Linked DNA regions of Homo sapiens: all the other regions are linked to region 3. The links are contacts of gene promoters, found by promoter capture Hi-C in human tissues and cell types (Jung and others, 2019). All regions are on one chromosome and are shown on one strand. Each heading gives the region's core, a stretch centred on a gene start or on the middle of the fragment in contact. The rest is flanking DNA. Distances are from core to core; before and after follow the strand shown.

Region 1 (4,507 bases), core at 916-3,415, 990 kb after region 3:
CCAAGATCACACACTGAGCCTCCCACCCCAAGACATGCTGCCAGCCTTTCCAGGATGACATTAGAGGGTGGAAGGAACCCAGAGCAGGAGGGGCCTTCCAGCCATGGCCCAGCCCTCCATTTGACAAATGGGGAAATTGAGTCCAGAGAAGGGAAGAGATTTGTCCGAGATAAGGCTATCACAAAAGATTTGAGGCGTTCTATGGAGCTGTGTTTTGTTTTGATTTTTGAGACGGAGTTTCGCTCTTGTTGCCCAGGCTGGAGTGCCATGACACAATCTCAGCTCACCACAACCTTCGCCTCCCAGGTTCTAGTGGTTCTCCTGCCTCAGCCTCCCGAGTAGCTGGGATTACAGGCATGTGCCACCATGCCCGGCTAATTTTTTTGTATTTTTTTTTAGTAGAGATGGGGTTTCTTCATGTTGGTCAAGCTGGTCTCGAACTCCAGACCTCAGGTGATCCGCCCACCTCGGCCTCCCAAAGTGCTGGGATTACAGGTGTGAGCCACCGCGCCTGGCCTAGCTGTGTTTTTTTTTTAAAGATGCTTTCTTCTCCACATGCCTGTCTGTGCCATCCTCCACCCACCCCAAATGAGCAGGAATCCCCAGACACAGGACTTGCCATGCCATAGGAGCCTGAAAGTTGGATTAGACGTAACTTGACAACTGAAACTCTACTGTGAATGGAAACAAAACACTAGATGTTCCCACTAAACTCTGACCTTGAAGAAGTGGCTTTCCTTGGAGCCTTGGTTTCCTTCTCAGTAAATAGAGACTTGGCTACCCCCAGTGGATGTGGTGAGACTGGCCCCGTGCCCTAAATTAGAGAAGTGGCTATTTTAAGTGGAAAGACCCTTTGTAAGGCCAGTCTGGGTGTACAAATGATGTAAACAGCCCCAAGATGATCCTTGTCTAGTACCGAGCCATCCAGGGATTCGACCCTATTTGCCCCGGAGCTGGGCCAGCCTCAAATCCCCCGTAATCAGCTTGTGACTTCAAGGAGCTCAGCTTTGCCCAGTGCCTCCTGGTCACGGGGTGTCGGCCCAGAGCTCTGCTCAAGTACCAAGGGTACAGCCATCCAGCTCCCTGCTTCCCCAAGACTGGCAAAGCTGGGGAGGCCTGGAACAAAGAGGAAAGTGTGCAGTGTTGGCTTGGGGCCTGCAACCTCACCCCTTCCCCCACCTCACTCCTGGGCATAAAGGTGATAAAGCCGCTCACTCAGTCTGCAGTCTGGTAACCGACGTCCCCATGATGGCGGAGGCTGGGAGGCCTCCTGACCAGATTCATGGGCTCAGAGAGGCTGTGTCCAGGCCTGCAGGCCCAGCCCTGGCTACCCTAACAAGCCTCCAATTGTTACCTCTCTCCACGGGAGGGGTGGACTGGAGCCTGAGGCTCTGTCTTCCAGCCACCAGGCCTGGCAGTAGCTGATGCATAAACATTAGGGTTTTGCAGTAACTGAGCAGGGCTCCCAGGCCTTGAACCTGGGCAGAAAGAAGACAGCATCTCCTCTCTTTGTGACCACACTGACTTGCCTCCCTGAGGCTTCTGCACCCTGGAATGGGAGAGAGCTCTTGCCAGGCCTCAGCTGATGGAGCCTTTGGCTACTGAGGCCTCTGCTGGACAGGAAGTCTGCCTATGTCTCCTAGCCCAGTTTATCTCCCCCTGCCCTGGCATTTGGGAGTGGGGAGGAAACGGCTCCATCAGAAACAGCTCTACCATTGGACCTTAGGCCAGCCACACTTCTTGTTGGAGCTTGTGTCCTCAGCTGTACTGGGGATGAGAGCTAGCTGTCTGGGTCAGCGGCACTGAGGCTCCAGGGGAGCATGTGGTCTGTGCAGCAGGCTTGGGGAGTGCTGAGCAGCACAGATTGGGTTTCATAGCACAGTGGGAGCCCAGACAGGCCAGCTAGCCATAAGCACCTCTGCTGGAGGAAGAGGTGGACTCTCTTGGGCTGGAGGGCCCAGTTCAAGGAAAGAAACAAACAGCTACACTGGGCTCCTTGATCACCCAGCTGTGGCAGTTCTTCTTGAGGACTTCCTGCCCCTAGGTGGGGGCTGCCTTCAGCTCCCTGCTGCGTGTGATAACTTGGGTGTGGCCCTCACAGCTGTGCAGAAGCTATTCCCAGAGGGTTCTGGCCCCAGGTAAACAGATTCTGCTCTGGGCTCGCCTTGCCTCCATCCCACAGCCCTGTGTGCTGTCTGTGGCACAGCCTAGAGCAGCACTGCCTCGTGGCCCTGGCCCTTATGCGGCTGGAGCTGATCCTGAAGTCCAGTGTCCCAGCGGTCATGGCTGGCATCATCACCATCTACAACCTGGTGATGGAAGTCCTTATCCCCAACTCGCTGATCGACTGCATCAGCCTCTACGGGAATCTCCTCCAGCCAAGCGCTAGGCTGAGTGTGGGCCTGAGTGGCCCGGCAGCCAGCTATGTCATCAGCACTGTGGGGGACACAGTGCTGCCTAGAAGCCCGGGCTATTTGTGGGCTTGATCCTGATCCTCATTTTCACTGCATGGTCTCATTCTCTCCACAAAGTAGCCTTTGAGCCCACCAGCCACAGAATGTGATATAAAGATCACCCCTGCTTATTCCAGAATGAACAGCCTGAGACACATATCCCTTCAGTAGTTGGTCTTGTGAATGCAGTGTCCTAGTGCAAATGCCCATCATCTGTTGACCCCATCCTTGCCCCTGCCTGCCCCATGCTGTGGATATCTGGGCCCCCTCATCACCCATCCTGGCCCCCTGACCAGTGAGGATGCCCCCTCCCATCTAGGGTACTCTGCGTCTAAGGATGAATTCCAGTGTAATTTTCTCTCTTCTGTAGGTTTATTTATGGAAGATTGGACCTGTTCATACATCTGTGGGGCAGCCCTCCATCTCCCAGCTATATAAAGTCTCTAACCACAGTGTTGCATTGTGGGGTTACCATGTGGTCTGACACTTCCTTGCATGAACTACCCTCACTCCAGCCCTGGACAGTCCAGGGCCTAGCAGGCAGTGTGTGGGGCCTACCAGGTCCTGGCATCCAAGCTGTGTCCAATAAAGTTCTTAGATGTGACTGGAAAAAAAATTGGATTAAAAAAAAGCTTCAGAAGTTACAGAGCCAACTACAGAGAAGCATAATAAATGAAAGAGTGTCTTCTAGTTTTGACAGTTTGGTGTTTACCCTAAAGACTTCTCTTTGTGCATGTGTAGATACATGCCTATAAATAGAATATTTGTGTAGTTGGATCCCACTTTCTGCATAGTTCTTTGCAACCCATTCTGTTCACCAAACCAACCCTTAGAGGTAAATACTGGCAGTGTTTCTCTCTGCACATACAACCAAGTGCCACTATACAAGTTCACTAACTCCCTGTTCCTTACACAATATGTACATCCTATTGCTTTTTTTCCCCCCTGAACAATCTACCCTGGTACTCTTCATAACACATACATGTTATGTGAAACACAGATGTGTTTCATTCTTTCCAATAGCTGCATAATACTTCATTACAGGCATGTCCCACCATGATTAAGAAATAGCAGCCCCATCACCTTCTTCATACCACTCACCACCTGATGTATTACATGTATTTATTTTCTGCCCCAGCCTTCAACTAACCTATCAAGTTCCATAGGCAGGGATTTGGTATAGTTTTATCGCTGAATTTCCATTGACTAGAAGAGTGTTGGGAGCATGCATTCAGGCATAATCTTTCCTTAGCAATATCATTTATTCATAGAAGATCCTCTCTTATGGAGAATTAACTGAAGCTTAGAGGAAGAGACTTTTTTTTGAGACGGAGTTTCACTCTTGTTGCCCAAGCTGGAGTGCAATGGCGCGATCTCGGCTCACTGCAACCTCTGCCTCCCGGGTTCAAGTGATTCTCCTGCCTCAGCCTCCCGAGTAGTTGGGATTACAGGCGCGCGCCCCCCACGCCCAGCTAATTTTTCGTATTTTTAGTAGAGACGGGGTTTCACCATGTTGGTCAGGCTGGTCTTGAACTCCTGACCTCAGGTGATCCGCCCACCTCAGCCTCCCAAAGTGCTGGAATTACAGGCGTGAGCCACCATGCCCAGCCAGGAAAGGACTTTTTTAAGGTCACACAAGTGGAGGAGCTGGGACTTAAATGTGTCTGCTGAGAGTGACAGTGAACTTTGCATGTGCCCAATCTTACCAAATTAATGTTCTCTTAGTTGAATTATTGCCCATCTCACCACCAAATGTGTATCTTCTCAGGGGTGTCAGTTTCCCCAGGGTCCAGATCCTGGCCCCACACCCACACATGGCCAAGGAGCCATTTACATTTAACATTCCATAATAGGATGCATACCTTTTCGGTTATTTAGGGAGGATGTGGTTTTGCCTGGAAGGCTTTGAGAATGCTGGGCAGCTAGCTCAGGGGACGTGGGGCTTAAAGCAGAGGCCGATCAACTTTTTTCTAAAGGGCCAGATAGAGCGTAAATATTGTCAGCTTTGTTGGACATGTAGTTCTCGGCCTGCCACTCAGCTTTGCTGTTGCAGT
Region 2 (4,586 bases), core at 195-2,694, 650 kb after region 3:
TCTTGGCTCCTAGAATATTTTGAAAAGTATTTAAGATATTTCTTTGTTATGTGCAACTCCAAATGCTGGCATCTTTTTATATGCCAATAAGTGCCTTAACTCTCTGTACTGTTTGTCACAATTGCTTTTCGAAGAACCAAGTAAATGCTGCCCAAACAAATTAGAAAGTTTTCTTTTGGTTGAAATAAGCAACACTTTAACCCAATTCCTAAGTTCTGCCTTTGCCTGAAATTGACTTTACTGATAAATCATTCTTCATACTGATCAGCAAAGAAAGGAAAAATATCTTGTTCTTGTTGTTGTCCAAAAAAAAGAAAAGAAAAAGAAAGTAATTCTTTTAAGATTTTGTTTAGGTTAATAGTAACAATGGTTGGTACTTTCACTTAACTTCAGCAGCAACTAAAGCCACATTGTCAATTCAAAAACAGTTTTTGTTGTTCTTCCAGGAAATAACTCTGTAGTGAGAGGAAGTTTGCAGTAAATGCTTTTGGAGCATCAGGCTGAGGCTGTGTCCCTGAAGCTAGTGTGTGTGTGTGTGTGTGTGTGTGTGTGTGTGTGTGTGTGTGTGTGTGTTTTCACTCTAGTCAGAAAAGACGTGCCAGGTGTTTGTGACAAGCTGTGATGAGGACTGGAGATTACTTGGAATCCATTGTGTTCTTTTCCTTGTTGGAAAAAGAAAGCTTCTAAAAACAAGCCCTTATTTAAAGGAAGCCCCAGTTAATTCAACAAGGCTCTGAAAGAAGTCCCTTTTATAGAAACTGCTTGACAAAGGCCATTTGGCCCAGAGGAGTCCTGTGAGGTCAGAAACTGAAATCAACACCCACATAGGGTTCAGGCAGTTAGAAGCTCAGAGTGTACTTAGTAAAGCATAACAAACTTTTACCCACTTTGGTCAGAATGGAATTTACCCAGCAATGCAGAGTCTTATGCTAGAACACCAACAAACCTCAATTATAATGGCTAACAGTTGCTACGGGTTTACAGGTGCCGGGAAAAGGTGATGCCTACACCTCATGGACTCTCAGCCTTTTGAGATGGGTGTCACTATTATTATTATTATTATTATTGTTATTTTGAGATGGAGTCTCGCTCTGTCACCCAGGCTGGAGTGCAATGGCACAATCTCGGCTCACTGCAACCACCACCTCCTGGGTCCAAGCCATTCTCCTGCGTCAGCCTCCTGAGTAGCTGGGATTACAGGCTAATTTTGTATTTTTTTTTAGTAGATATGGGGTTTCTCCATGTTGGTCGGGCTCAGGCTCGTCTCGAACTCCCGACTTCAGGTGATCCGCCCTCCTTGGCCTCCCAAAGTGCTGGGATGACAGGCGTGAGCCACCGCACCCAGCCGGGTGTCATTATTATGATCCCCATTTTGCAGATGAGGAAACAGATGCATCCTCAGGTTAGTTAAGTGATGGTGTTCAGCTTTGACCCCAGACAGTTTGATCCACAGCCAGAGAGCTTAACTATGCCCAAGGCCTGTTAGACTATACTACCTAGACAGGAAGAAGGCCAGCACACCCAGGGAGGCTGCTTTCATCTGCATGTCATCCTTCAAACTCTTAAAAATGATTGAAGAAAAACAATCCTTTTGTATCCAGCATGCATCTGAAATTTTATTCTGGAAAACAATGAGCTCAACTCTGTGCTGTGTGATGATGGAGTGGTGCCCTTTAAAAGGCAAGGGCTGACCAGGAGAGATGGGCAGGCATGAATTTTAAGGATGTCTTGCCTTTAAGTTCCATCAGGTCCTTGCTTTAGCTCAGGTCACTCTGAAATCCTAGAAGAATAGCACACCCAATAGCACATGACACAAGTGACTCATTGTTCTTCTGCCTCAAACAACAGCAGCCTACTTAGCATACAAAACACATTTTATGAGACAAAGCTGGCTCGGGCCACAGCCACGCATTCTTTGCAGGAGCCACACATGGGGGCTGCTTTCTGGTTGTTCAATCTTACTTTGTTTATTTATTATTATTATTATTATTACTATTACTTTAGAGACAGAGTCTCGCTCTATTACCCAGGCTGGAGTGCAGTGGCGCAATCATAGCTCACTGCAGCCTCGAACTCCTGGGCTCAAGCAATGCTCCCACCTCAGCTTCCTGAGTAGCTGGGACTATAGGTGTGTGCTACCACCCCTGGCTTCAATCTTACTTTGAGGATAAGAGGTAGTGACAACACAAGTCCATTAGTGCTCATGATGCATGATTTATTTCGTGGTGACACAGGGATGATGAGGAAAGGCTTGAAGGCAGTGTCTCAACTCCTCTTTCCCTAGCCCTTTCTCCCTGAAGGCATATTGGTGCTTTGCCAGCTCCACCCTTGCCCGCACCCTAAGGAAGGGACACTGGCTCCCACTGGGGAGTTGGAGTGAACTATGGCACCAGCACACAGGTGTGGGCTTCCTGCTCCCCTGGGGAGAGACCTCTCCTACAGACTTAAGTGGTGCCTGCCCCCAGAGGATTTCTCTATGGGAACTGCTCCAACACCCCTGGAGTCTCAGAGCTGGGGGTCTCAGGTGGGCACCAGCTTTCCTCCCTTCCCGTTTCTAACAGGGCCCCCATGAGAAAGCAAGAATGTGGCAGAGATGACCGTTGGTATTGCTGGGGCCCAGGCAGGCAGGGCTGGGAGGGGCAGCGTGGTGGGGCAGCTCTGTCCAGTGGGTCTACGGCCTCTGGCCAGCTGCATGGACACGACATCCTCAGGAGAGGGTGTGGTAGTCCCTGGCAGGCCTGCTGAGCTCTGTTCTTGCGAGACCTGGCTACCCCAGAGATAATAACCAAGGGGATTCATAGACTGCCATCGTTACACCATGCATGTGTGATATCTAATTATCTTCCTAGGTCAGATGTAGTGAGGTGGAGCTGGTGGCTTGGGAAGAAATTGTCCCATGAACCTGAGGTTAGATCCCATGTGGCAGCTCCATGACATAATCACACTGGAGTTTCAGGGTGGTGTGGTTGGTGACCCATGAGGATTGGTGAGCTCTCGCCCTCAGGGTTTCATGGCATACATGGCCCTGGATAGGCTGGTCTCCTCCTGAAGAAGTGAGGAAACCTTAGAAGATGTGTCTCAAAACATTCCTTAGTCTCAGTCTCCTGGGAAGCTCCACTGAGGATAGATCCTTTGAGCTGACTCAGGGAACTGTGACTTCTTAGGGATAACTGGCTCAGAGGGCTCGTTTTCACCAAGCTTCAAGCACAGCCCTCAGTGGGACTTCCAATGCCAGGGCATGTCTAGGAGGTCAGGGAGGGCAGACTAGGAATAGGGAAAGGCAGCCTTCTGGGAAGGTGGAGTTTGAATGAAGGAGGAAGAGTGTGGTGTCCCTAAGGACAGTCCTAAGTCCCAAGAAGGGGCTAATTCCTCTCTGGGAGGCTGGGGCTGGAAGAGGCCGGAAGCCTGGGAAATGGGCAGCCTTCCTCCAGAGGCTTACAAAGAGAAGGAAGGTGTCCTCTACCGATTCAAAAGGGGCATCTGCTTACAACAGAACAGAGGTCCCTGTACACAGAGTGGAAAGTGTTAACACCAGTTCCTTTTTTTTTTTTTTTTTTGAGACAGAGTCTCATTTCCAGGCTGGAGTGCAGTGGTGCGATCACAGCTCACTGCAGCCTCGACCTCCAAGGCTCAAGCGATCCTCCTATCTCAGCCCCCTTGATAGCTGGGACTACAGGCACACATCACCATGCCTGGCTAATTTTTTTAAAAATTTTTTATTTTTGTAGATACGGGGTTTTGCCATGTTATCCAGGCTGATCTCCAGCTCCTGAGCTCAAGTGATTGGCCTGCCTCAACCTCTCAAAGTGCTAGGATTACAGGCGTGTGTCACCACGCCCAGCCCATAACACCAGTTCTTAATCTGGAGCGAGCAAGTGAGTTGCCTGGAATTCTAACCATTCATTCATCCAATAAGTGTTTGTGGAGCATCTTATTAGCATCCGGCCTGTGAGCATATCTGTGATTGGGTGCACACATGCATTTTCCTGCATTCATCAGCTTCTCAGAAGGGCTCTGCAGCTACCCTAAGGCGAAGGCCCTCAGGCTAGAAGTCCCATCTGCTGCAGGGAGGGCTTGTGTCTGATGCAGAAGGGAGCAGGTGTGGGGAGGGGCTAGGGCGCCTCGGTTTTTTGCCTGCTCAGCACCCATTCCCTGATCTTCTGGTGGCAGCATCCTGAGTTTTCTTAGGAAATATAATCACATTTTTTTTTAAAGGAAGTGATTGCGATGTGTCACTCCAAAGATTTTGAGGAGTCCAACACCTGGATGATCAGTTTCACTCATAGGAGCAGAGGAACTTAGCTGCTGCGCCACTGAAAAGGTGCTGGACTGAGAGTCAGAAGCCCGAGTTTGGATTCTGGCTCTGCCACTGATTAACAGAGTTTTTCAGACGTTATCTACAGACCTCTGATTTTGAAGGTTGAGTTAATCGTGTGCTTTGGATAAGAGCAAAACCATCACTGGTCTGTAGACTGCACCTTGGGACCACTCCATCGTTCATATCCTAGGACTTGTCTTTGTCAACAACTGCATGCAGCCAGGCGCAGTGACTCAGGCCTGTAATCCCAGCACTTTGGGAGGCTGAG
Region 3 (4,206 bases), core at 901-3,400:
AGGTGGAAGGAACAGCTTCACAGGGATGAAGCTAAGTCTGAGAAGGGCATGGAACAGCTTGAGGGGACTTGACCCTCCCAGGCACAGCTGCTCCCATCAACTCCAACAGCTCCTTTCAGCTCCCCCAGGATCATCCCTAGGTCAGTCCAGATGCTGGCACCAAAGCCAGTGTGAAATCAGAGCAGGACTAAGACTTTTGCCAGGCAGCCCTGGGGCAGACATGCTGGAGGAGAGGGTGAGAACACTCCTCAGAGGGCACATGTCCAACCAATTGATCCAGAGAAGCCTTGGCCATAGCTGCAGCCCTGGCAAACACCTAGCTTAGTGCTCTCCACTAGCAGAATCCCCGGGGTCTCAATTCCAACGGGACTTTATGAAGTAAGAAAACAGTGAGATTTATCTCCCAATAGCACATGGAACAGTGCGCCACCATGCCAACACTGCCCTGCTCCAAGGGGCGGAAGAGTATGGCCAGGACCCTGACCCCTAAGCAGGCTCCATCCAAGTAAGCTTAGCTCTATTTGTACCCCTGACAGCCAGTTATGGCCATTGGCCCTTGTTTGGCCCCTCAGGGACGCCAAAGCAGGCAGAAGAGATGCATCCTCATTGTTTGTTATGGCAAACGGGGGTTAAGGATAACAAGTGAACATCATTCCCTGCTTTCAAGTAAGGGAGCCCCATCTCCCCATTCATCCCAGGGTGCATGCATTCCTGCATTTCAAGTTGTAGGGAGCAGATACAGAAAAGAACCAAAGAGGCAGTTCAGAAAGATGGGCTGGGCAGTCGGGGAGCCTGGGAGGGCCATGGCAGGGAGCTATGTGGGCAGGCGAGTAGGGAGGAGCCCTGTAAGGCTCCCAGCAGGGCCAGGACCCTTGGACTCAGCACAAAACAAAGGGAGACAGCCCCAGGCCTGCCTGCTCAGGACTGGTCTGGCTTCCATCCAATAAAGGAAGGACCCTTCTCCAAAGAGTCAAAACAACCCAGATTGTTTTAGTTCCAGATTATTTTCTGAGCCCTTGGCTCAACAAAACCAGGTCCAGGATGGTTTGGCATCAGTATAATTCCAGGAGACTGAGCTGCAGGTCTCCTGGGTTCCCAGTTTCCTACTGCACTGCTCATGCAGTTCCCATGGAGCTGGAACATAGCCAGTCTGGACGGAAGGCTAAGTCACAGCACCCTGAAGGGACCATCCCAAGACCCTAGAGTATCTATCCACAGGGGACCTGCCTGTAAGGAAAGACAAAAATAGCCCATTAGGGCACTGCAATACTGCCTGCCCAGAAAGAGAGCAAATGCCAGGTGCTCTGGGGGCACCATACCAGCGGGCACCCAGCCCAGGCCTGAGCTCTGCCATCAGTGACAGTCCCCAGAACTTCTGCTCTGTCACTGGAGTGCCCACCCCAGAGCCCTCATACCTTCTCCACGTTCTCCACAGTGAAGTCCAAGGCTGGTGCTGCTCCAGCCCCTGCAGCCCCCGGCTGCTCCTCCCGCCGCTCCATCTTTGCTCCCTCCCTGGCAGGGAGGTGGGCCCTGATCTGTCTCCTGCCCCAGCCCCTTGGCTGCTGGCCCCCTGCTAGACCCCGGCTTGGGTGCCCAGGGAGTGGTGGGGTGAGGGGGGGCCCAGGGCGGGCATGGCTGCCGAGGCCTCCCCACCTCGTTTGGGGGTGGGAGGCTTGCCAGAGACCAAAATTGGTGCTCTTAGGAGACCCAATGAAGGGGACTCCGAGGAGGGAGCCGTCAGTGAGGAGCTCTCAGGCGGGGATCCTAGTGGCAGGTAACAGCTCTGTCCCCAGAATCTGTGTGGAGGGAGTCACAGGGGAGGGAGGCCTGCGGGGGAAACCGAGTCCCTGGCTCTTGAGGGGTCACAGGGTCGATGGCCTGTACCCACAACACCCCCGCCTGGGTGAGCTCTCGGCTGCTATGAACAGGTCATGGGGCTGGAGGGTCACGGGAGAGAGAGAGCCCTTCGTGGTTACGGAGGCGTCCAACGAAGCGCGGAGATGCAGCTCCGCTAGTCTAGGGCGAAGAGTCCGTGGAGTTGAGGGGCTGTGGCAGGTCCCTTCCGTTCGGCCTGGCCCGCGCTGTGCTCAACGCCCGGCTACAGCCCCGCTACAGCCGCTGCCTCCGCCCCAGTGACTGACAAGACAAGCCAGGCCGGCCGGGACGGGGCAGGGACCTCGGCAAGGCGCGGGCTGCCCCGAGCGCCTGTCCCCGGCACCTCCAACTCAGGCCCCCACTCCTGCCAGTTCTGGCTCGGCACGGCCCGGTACAGGCCGGCACGGCCCAGCGGAACTGCGCGGAAACTCATTCCGGGTCCTTAGCCCTGTCCTCGCGCCAGCTCGCACTCCCCTGAGCAGGCGGTGGAGCGGCTCGCCGCCCCAGGCCGCGGCCGAGTCTAGGCCCCGCCGCTGTTCACCCTGGGAAATGTAGTCCGTGTTGCGCCTAGCCGGAAGGCGGCGCCCTGCGGAGGAGGCCGGGAGCACGTGGGTTGGGGACCTGCAGAGCCCCGCCTGTCCTCGGCCTACCGCGGCGAGCAGGCATTCCGGGTCAGACCGGCGCGGGGCGCTGCGGCCCAACTCCTTAGTAGGACGACGTGACTCGAGGGGCCGGAGGACGGAGGTGGGAGCCCGGGCTAGAGGGTGGAGGCTGGGGAGGTTGCCTGGTCACTCTGGCGCTCCGCTGCCGGGGGCATCCTCCGGCCCAGCAAAGGTGCAGCCTGGGAAGAAGGCGTCAGCACCACCCAGAGAAGAGGAGAGGGGACTTGGCACGCCTCAGGAAGGAAAAAAGGAAGGCTCTCGGGACCACCCAATAAGCAACCGGGAAACCACATACCATGGACAGTGCTCGGGGAATTTCGTAAGGTTTTTGGAAGTAACTTTATGTGTAACTAGAGTAAGAGTAGCTTACATTTAAGTGCTAGGAGCAGGACTTTGCTTACCTTAGGTTCAGTTTTCTTAATAGCTCTGAGGTGGATATTTTTATTCATCATTTTCAGATGAGATGAGGAAATCGAGCTTGGGGAAAGTTAGGCTTATCTTGCCCCTGGCACACAGACAGGGTGGCAGACCATGCCATAGATCTGGTCTGCCACAGGCCCCGGTAGTTCCTGCCTGTCACCCCTCCAGTTGTATTTTATTGTTTATTAACTCCTGCCAGCTACCCTAGCAGGGAAGAGGAAAAAATTAAAAGTGCAAAGAGCTCCGTAGTTTTGTTCAAATGGAGGAAGCTGGCATTGGAAGCTGGCATTGGCAGCAGCTGCTGAGGCCTGAGAAGGTCCATGAAGGCTTCCCTGAGAAGAGAAACTTGATCTGAGCTTGAAGAATAGAGAGCCTGGGAAGGAGAGGGGCCCATTTAGCTGGTAAGCAAAATCCAGTAGGACTCTAAGTCATTCAGCAAGTCTTCATCAATAAAGAATAGCAAGTAGGCCGGGCGCGGTGGCTCACGCCTGTAATCCCAGCACTATGGGAGGCTGAGGCGGGCGGATCACGAGGTCAGGAGATCGAGACCATCCTGGCTAACACGGTGAAACCCCGTCTCTACTAAAAATACAAAAAATTAGCCGGGCATGGTGGCAGGCACCTGTAGTCCCAGCTATTCGGGAGGCTGAGGCAGGAGAATGGCTTGAACACGGGAGGTGGAGCTTGCAGTGAGCTGAGATCACGCCACTGCACTCCAGCCTGGGCGACAGAGTGAGACTCCGTCTAAAAAAAAAAAAGAAAAGAAAAGAAAGAATAGTAAGTAATTTATATTCATTTTAAGAGAATATATGTGGGGTGGGGAAGGGGAAGGGTATGAGTAACAGAGATGAGGTTGGAAAGACAAGTTGGTGGCAATAGATTCTTGTAGGAGTTTGGACATTATCCTAAGTGCAATATGAAACCATGATGGGGTTTCAAGTGAGCAATGATGATTACATTTGCATTTTAGAAAAATCTGCAACATGAAAGACAAATTGAAGGAAGAAAGAGAGGCAGGAGACATTTGGAAGGAGGAAATAGAAAGCCAAAATAAAGTAACTGATTCCAGGCCTGTGCCTAGGGTGTGAAATACCTTGGGCCTGGTGCTGGCTGGCGGTTTCACTGGTGGAGGTGGTGGTGGGCAGGGGAGATGGTGTTGGGAGTGGGGTTTAAATGCACAAATTCTGGACTTAGTCCTGAGTTCAAAACCTGTTTATGCCTCTTTCTAGCAATGAGACCTTAGCTTCTT

Evidence for each region. The method cuts DNA at HindIII sites, captures the fragments that hold promoters and counts their contacts. A contact is called where the count stands out against the background at its distance.
Region 1: a fragment that was not itself captured here is called in contact with the fragment with the promoter of IPO13 in region 3 in 1 of the 25 tissues and cell types used here (dorsolateral prefrontal cortex).
Region 2: a contact is called between a fragment that was not itself captured here and the fragment with the promoter of IPO13 in region 3, in 2 of the 25 tissues and cell types used here (adrenal gland and lymphoblastoid cells).

The regions. Positions count from the first base shown.
Region 1 is chr1:42,950,247-42,954,753 of GRCh38, reverse strand. The region is part of intron 1 of SLC2A1 (solute carrier family 2 member 1); the gene reads left to right. It also overlaps the pseudogene ATP6V0CP4. Among named protein-coding and RNA genes, the nearest start is that of SLC2A1, 6.4 kb to the left of the region's middle. RefSeq lists enhancers at 684-1,628, 1,862-2,156, 2,279-2,348, 3,883-4,418. The HindIII fragment of the contact is 4,431 bases long and covers 1-4,380 here.
Region 2 is chr1:43,291,822-43,296,407 of GRCh38, reverse strand. No RefSeq gene overlaps it. Among named protein-coding and RNA genes, the nearest start is that of TIE1, 6.9 kb to the left of the region's middle. The HindIII fragment of the contact is 6,034 bases long and covers 1-4,461 here.
Region 3 is chr1:43,944,894-43,949,099 of GRCh38, reverse strand. IPO13 (importin 13) reads right to left here and starts at 2,150. Exons shown (of 20, transcript NM_014652.4): 1 at 1,416-2,150. The coding sequence starts at 1,499. It overlaps LOC101929609 (a long non-coding RNA gene), which reads left to right and starts at 2,501. Exons shown (of 2, transcript NR_188535.1): 1 at 2,501-2,619. RefSeq lists a silencer at 2,105-2,354. The HindIII fragment of the contact is 10,546 bases long and covers 1-4,206 here.